2 separate regions of the Homo sapiens genome follow, and region 1 is linked to region 2. Evidence: promoter capture Hi-C in human tissues and cell types (Jung and others, 2019). All regions are on one chromosome and are shown on one strand. The core of a region is centred on a gene start or on the middle of the fragment in contact, and the rest is flanking DNA. Distances in the headings are between cores, read along the strand shown.

Region 1 (2,868 bases), core at 270-2,769, 87 kb after region 2:
CTTGCCACATGGGCCTCTGCACATGGATATGGGGTATCCTCTTAACCTGGTGGGTGGCTTCCTCTAAAGCTAGCAAATCCAGAGAGAGCGAGCCAGGCAGAAGCTATCCATTTATGGCCTAGCCTCAGAAGTCACACAGCATCCCCTCTGCCACATTGTATTTGTTAGAAGCAAATCACTGAGTCTGGGCGTCATTCAAGGGGAGAAACCAAGCTTATACCTTTTTTTTAATTTTTATTTTTTATTTTTATTTTATTATTATACTTTAAATTTTAGGGTACATGTGCACAACGTGCAGGTGTGTTACGTATGTATACATGTGCCATGTTGGTGTGTTGCACCCATTAACTCGTCATTTAGCATTAGGTATATCTCCTAATGCTATCCCTCCCCCCTCCTCCCAAGCTTATACCTTTTGAAGGGGAGTTGTGTCAAAGCATTTGTGGGCCTTTTTTTTTTTTTTTTTGAGGCGGAGTCTCACCCTGTCACCCAGGCTGGAGTGCAATGGCACGATCTCAGCTCACTGCAACTTCCGCCTCCCGGGTTCAAGTGATTCTCCTGCCTCAGACTCCCGAATAGCTGGGATTACAGGCACCTGCCATCATGCTTGTGGGCATATTTTTAAACCATCACAGCATCAATTGACCATGCCAAAAACCTAGCTAGTATGCAGGAATCTGTTTTTCTTTTCTTGTTTTTTTTTTTTTTCTTTGAGGCGGAGTCTCACTCTGTCACCAGGCTGGAGTGCAGTGGCGTGATCTCGGCTCACTGTAACCTCTGCCTCCCATGTTCAAGCGATTCTCCTGCCTCAGCCTCCCGAGTAGCTGGGACTACAGGCATGCGCCACCACACCCAGCTAATTTTTGTATTTTTAGTAGAGACAGGTTTCACCATGTTGGCCTGGATGGTCTCAATCTCATGACCTCGTGATCCACCCACTTCAGCCTCCCAAAATGCTGGGATTACAGGCATGAGCCACCGTGCCCAGCCTCTGTTTTCCTTTTGTAGTCCAGCTTTTGAGTTTTTATAACTCAGTCCAGATTGAGGGGATCTGCTGTTTTTTAGAGAGAGACAATCTAACATCAGTAGGTTTTCAGACTGCTATGTCAGTGTATCTTATAAATCGGATACATTGACCCTCTTCTTACCATCAACCTTTCAAATCCTTGGCCATCATAACACTTCTGAGAAACTGTAGCCCACTTACATTTTTGGCATCTAGCAGCTAAAGGGGCAGTGTACAGTAGTGTTACAAGCAGGCAGTAGAGCCCAGTAGCCTGGATGTGAGTCCCAGTAATGCTGTTAACTGGCTTATATGATTTGGGCAAGTCCTTTAGTCTCTGTGCCTCAGTTTCCCTATATGTAAAACAGACCTAATGATAAATCCTTGTAGGGTCACTGAGGAACAAATGGGCTGATGCGTATAGAGCTCTTAAAACACTGTCTAGCACGTAACAAGCACCATGTCAATGTTAGTGGTCACTGTTTTATCTAATTGCCTCATTTTGAGTGAGGCAAACAGCTTGATTTTCTTTTCCTTTCCTTGTATGAGTTCCTGTTTTACATAAGGAAGGTAAAAGATGCAGGGCTCTTGAGCCGCTTTGGCTCTTGTTTGTTCCAAGTTCGAAGAAGTAGAACAGCGTGTGTTTTAAACTCATTGCATGTAAAAGTTTCTAATATGCCCATGCTTCTGGGCTCAAGTTTTGATTTACATTTTATCACATTTCAGATAGTAAGCCCCACAGTCTGAGAGGTGACTCCATAAAACAAGAAGAGGCCCAGAAAAGCTTTGTTGACAGCTGGAGACAGAGATCAAACACTCAAGGTACCAGAATCCCTGCTTCTCCTGCAGGGGCCTGCATGGCTCTGAGTAATATGCAGAAGAATTGCCCAGGCCTCTGAGAACCGGTGCCCCGGGCAGTCCTTCAGAGAGTCCAGGGAAGTCAAAGTATGTGGCTTAAGCAGAAGACTTTATAAAGTGGAAAGGGCCAAGGGCAGGTATGTCCCAGAGCCTTCCGCACCCACAGGCATCTTCCTGGGGCTTAGTGGCAGCCTAGAGGACAGTTGGCATCCAAAGAATCCTTACTGTTTCCTTCTGAAAGCCACCGAAAAGATCTCCCATGTCAGAACCTTCTAGAGTCATCTTGTCTTCTGCAGGTTCCATTTTGATAAACCTGCTCCTGAAGCAGCCTTTGATCCCAGGGTCATCCCTAAGCCTTTGCCACCTCCTGAGTAGTAGTTCTGAGTCTCCTGCTGGCACCCCCCTGCAGCCACCAGGGTTTGGCAGGTAAGCATAAGACTCCTGGAAAGCTTGTTTGGGAAGGAGCTTCCTGGAAGCAAATTCCTTTCTGGCCCTGGCCAGCCTGAGAAGTCTGTGGGAAGGGCAGGCAGCCTGGAGAATTTGGCAGGCAGGCTGTTTGGGGCTCTTGACCTTATCTCCATCCCACACTTAATCTATTTTTCTTTGTGTTTGTTGCCAGTACCTTGGCTGGAATGTCAGGCCTCAGGACCACAGGTTCTTATGATGGGTCATTTTCCCTCTCAGCCCTGAGAGAAGCACAGAACCTGGCATTCACTGGACTGAATCTGGTTGCCCGGAATGAGTGCTCACGTGATGGAGACCCAGCAGAGGGAGGCAGAAGGGCCTTCCCACTCTGCCAGCTTCCTGGAGCCGTGCATTTCCTCCCCCTTGTACAGTTCTTCATCGGCTTACACTGCCAGGCCCTGCAGGACTTGGCAGCTGCTAAGAGAAGCGGAGCACCTGGGGACTCACCGACACATTCCTCCTGCGTGAGCTCTGGGGTAGAGACCAACCCTGAGGACTCAGTGTGCATCCTGGAAGGCTTCTCTGTGACTGCACTTAGCATT
Region 2 (3,565 bases), core at 1,066-3,565:
GAGGCAGAAGGGGCGGGGCAGCATAGGCCTGAGCCTTTATTGTGTTTTCTGTAAGAAACGAAGAGGGCAGAACAGGGTAAGCCTTTTAGAATGGGCTAGTTTAAATGGTTCTGGCTGGCTTTGAGGCATAGGGGCCGTCTCCAGTTGTCTGGTACCTGGCCCTGGGTTGATTTAGGGCAGGAGGAATATTAACTTGCTGTGTGAGAGTTTGGTAAAGGAGATGATTGTGGGTGTGGGCTGTAGCTTGGTTCGTTTGCATAAAAGGCACTCTCCTTTGCTATCTGGCTAGGCCTGGGAAGGAGAGTCTCTCCCCAGTCAGCAAGATCACAAATGCCAGAGCATCAAGAATACAGAAAATTAAAAATATACAGAGAATACAACTGGCCCTGTGATGGATGCCAGACAAATTCAGAATCTAAGAGAACACGGAGCACCCTGGCAAGGTGGCCAGTAATAGGACTTACCTCATCTAGCCGTTGTGAGGATTAAATAGATGAGCCCCTGTAAATTGTTTAGACGGGTGCCTTGCCTGCAGAAGGCGCCATGAAAGGTGTGCTGTTACTTCTCCCCTTGCTACGCCCCCTTTACTTCCCATGCTGTGTCGTCCCTCCCTCTCTGTCCTACTCTCAGGCTGCCCAACTCCTTATGGATCCCTCTTCTCAGGTTTCCCCAGCTGCCTGCTTTAATCTACTTTCTCCTAGACAATGTCCGGACCATTCTCTCACCTGCATCTTATCTTTTGCTTAGACTATTACGCAGTTACCATTTCACATCTCTCAAATTTTACATCTCTTAACTCTTGTGACATTTAGATTTGTCTTCATCTATTGTTGCAATGTGTCTTTCTCTGCCGCTTTTCTGGTAGCACCCCGCCACCACCACCCCCCAACACACCTTCCTGTTCCTCTATTTTTTTTGTTGTTGTTGTTGAGATGGAGTCTCGCACTGTCGCCCAGGCTGGAGTGCAGTAGCGCAATCTCAGCTCACTGCAACCTCCACCTCCCAGCTTCAAGCAATTCTCCTGCCTCAGCCTCCCAAGTAGCTGGGATTACAGGCACCCGCCACCACGCCCAGCTAATTTGTTGTATTTTTAGTAGAGACAGGGTTTCACTATGTTGGCCAAGCTGGTCTCAAACTCCTGACCTGGTGATCCACCCGCCTCGGCCTCCCCAAGTGCTGGGATTACGGGCATGAGCCACTGTGCCTGGCCTCTGTTCCTCTATTTCAAATTCATTCATTCACTCATTCGGCAATTTGCTTCAGTTTCCTTATGTTTGCCTCTTTCTCATCTGTCCTCTTTTCCATTTTATTCCTACTCTGTCTCAGTCCACTTACAGTTATATTTCCTATCTGTGTATTTTATAATATTTGTGCTTTAATACTTTTAAAATATCCTTTATTTTACTGTTTCTTCTCTTCCCTTGTCATATTTTAAAGTGTTTTATTTCTCAGCCTTCTATATCTTTGCATTAATTCTGTTCCTCTACAATAGAGTCCGTTCCAAGCTTTCTGTCTTCCTGTGTCCTTCCACGGCTCTGGCTCTCTCTGCATTATTTCCTATTTATGGAATACAAATCTTTTACCCTTGTATTTTTCTCACTCCTCTCCACACACCCCTTGACTCGCCTTTCCCCACGCCCCTCTAGGTGCTTCTTGGTCTTTGCTTTTCCTTTTTATTTCCTCACCATGTCAATTTGTATTTTTCCTCTCTCTTACTACTGTATCATAAATGGGACTCCCGACAACCACTCCCGTGTGTCTGCCTGGAGGCAGCAGTTTTAAGAAGGGTTGGCCACTGAGCCTCACAGAGGGACCCCTGTCTTATGCTGCAGCAAAGTACCATAGACTGGGTGGCTTACAAACAAATTTATTTCTCACAATTTTGGAGGAGAGAAGTCCAAGAGTCACCTGTCAGCACGGTCAGGTTCTGGTGTGGGCCTTCTTCCAGGTTGCAGCTGACACCTTCTCATGTCCTCGCATGATATGAACAGGGCTAGAGAGCGTTCTGGGGTCTCTTTTATAAGGTCACTGGTCCCATCATAAGGACTCTGCCTGTGACCCACTTACCTCCCAAAGGCCCCCCACCTCCAATCACACCAAGGGTTAGAATTTCAACGTAGGAATTTTGAGAGGACACAAACACCCAGGCTATGACACGGTCTTTAGAAAATCCCAGAATGAGTTGTCAGGTTCTTGGGAGATCTGTAACTGTGGGAAAGCGTCACATCCCAGGGAAAGCCACCAGCTGGGAGAGCCATCCCAGACAAGGCCTGCTCCCTTTGGGCGGACCTCTGTGGAGAAGCCAGCTTGGCACGTTCTTTCTCCTCCACTGCAAAGTTAAATGCGAGAAGGTAGAAACCCAGAGGCCATGCTGGCGCTGAGAGATGAGCCCCACTCACCAGATTCAAGATCCCAAGGTAGGCACAGACACAGGGCAAGCAGACTCCAATTCCAGGAGTTTGGAACTTAAATAGAGTCATAGAGACACTCAGATCTGATCAAAGTGAGTGCACTCGGTGACATTTCCTAAAGGGTTCTGACAACTTCATCTGCAACTGGGGCTGCCCCAGGTTCTGCACCTCCAGCTCACAGCGCACAGGTGTTGCTGAGCTCCTCTAAACAATGAACAGCACTAACAAGTGGGTTTAGGTAGGGATGCCTGCCAGCTGTGTGGATCAGGCCCCAGGGGAGAGGCCGGGGTGGAGGTCAGCCCGGGAGTCTGCACACCTGCAGCTTGTTTCTACCGCACACAGATGGGCATGGGTGAAAATCTTTACAAGTGCTGCAGACTTTGGCAAAGCCTATAAATTCAGAGCAGCCCGGAGAGGAGAAAGGAAAGTGGATGTGGGTTCAGGCCGCATGAAATGGAGATCCGATTGCCTGACTTAGCTTTGAAGCGAATCTTCTCTTTCCTGGACCTGTTCGGCTTGCTGCAGGTTTCCCAGGTGAACAAGGTAAAGGCCTTCCACCTCCCACTGCCCCCCAAGCCCGCTGCTTCTCTCGACCAGTTTGAGCACCACTTTGCAGAATAGCAGAGGGTTACACTGAGGCTTTGGGGGTTAGCATTCTTCATACTGAGGGCCTCATATTCTGTTAAACGAAAAGGACAAGCTGATATCCAGGAGTTGTGCTGACTAAACAGTCCTTGAGGCTCCCATTTCAAGCCCTAGGAAATCAACACTTCTTCCTGTGAATTCATGGGAATACCCAGTGCCTGTATTAGCAGTGATAGGTCTCTGTTGTTACCATTTCCTTATCTCCCCACACTGAGAGTGCTTTGAGAGCTGGAATCCCATCTGATTAACCTGTGCGGGCCCAGCTCCCAGAACAAATAATAGCAGAGGATTACCCTTGCTCTCTGATGTAACTGATTGCCTGCTTGTCTCTTCCTTTCTCTCCCATAGCATTGGAATAGGATTGCAGACAGTGATTACCTGTGGAGGTAAGGGAAGGGAAAGGGCAAGGAGGGAAGGGGAGAGGAGATCATCTGACTGCGCACCCATGCTGTGTCCCAAGGCCTGTGTGGCTGTGTTGTGAGATATACACAGGAAAGTTAGTGTGAGTA

Evidence for each region. The method cuts DNA at HindIII sites, captures the fragments that hold promoters and counts their contacts. A contact is called where the count stands out against the background at its distance.
Region 1: a contact is called between a fragment that was not itself captured here and the fragment with the promoter of FBXW12 in region 2, in 7 of the 25 tissues and cell types used here (IMR-90 fibroblasts, aorta, heart left ventricle and 4 more).

Annotation. Positions count from the first base shown.
Region 1 is chr3:48,457,630-48,460,497 of GRCh38, forward strand. ATRIP (ATR interacting protein) reads left to right here. Exons shown (of 13, transcript NM_130384.3): 6 at 1,730-1,825; 7 at 2,158-2,287; 8 at 2,481-2,868. It overlaps ATRIP-TREX1 (ATRIP-TREX1 readthrough), which reads left to right. Exons shown (of 15, transcript NR_153405.1): 6 at 1,730-1,825; 7 at 2,158-2,287; 8 at 2,481-2,868. Among named protein-coding and RNA genes, the nearest start is that of TREX1, 7.2 kb to the right of the region's middle. The HindIII fragment of the contact is 6,156 bases long and covers 1-2,868 here.
Region 2 is chr3:48,369,904-48,373,468 of GRCh38, forward strand. It overlaps FBXW12 (F-box and WD repeat domain containing 12), which reads left to right and starts at 2,316. Exons shown (of 11, transcript NM_207102.2): 1 at 2,316-2,417; 2 at 2,781-2,954; 3 at 3,405-3,442. The coding sequence starts at 2,865. The HindIII fragment of the contact is 16,322 bases long and covers 1-3,565 here.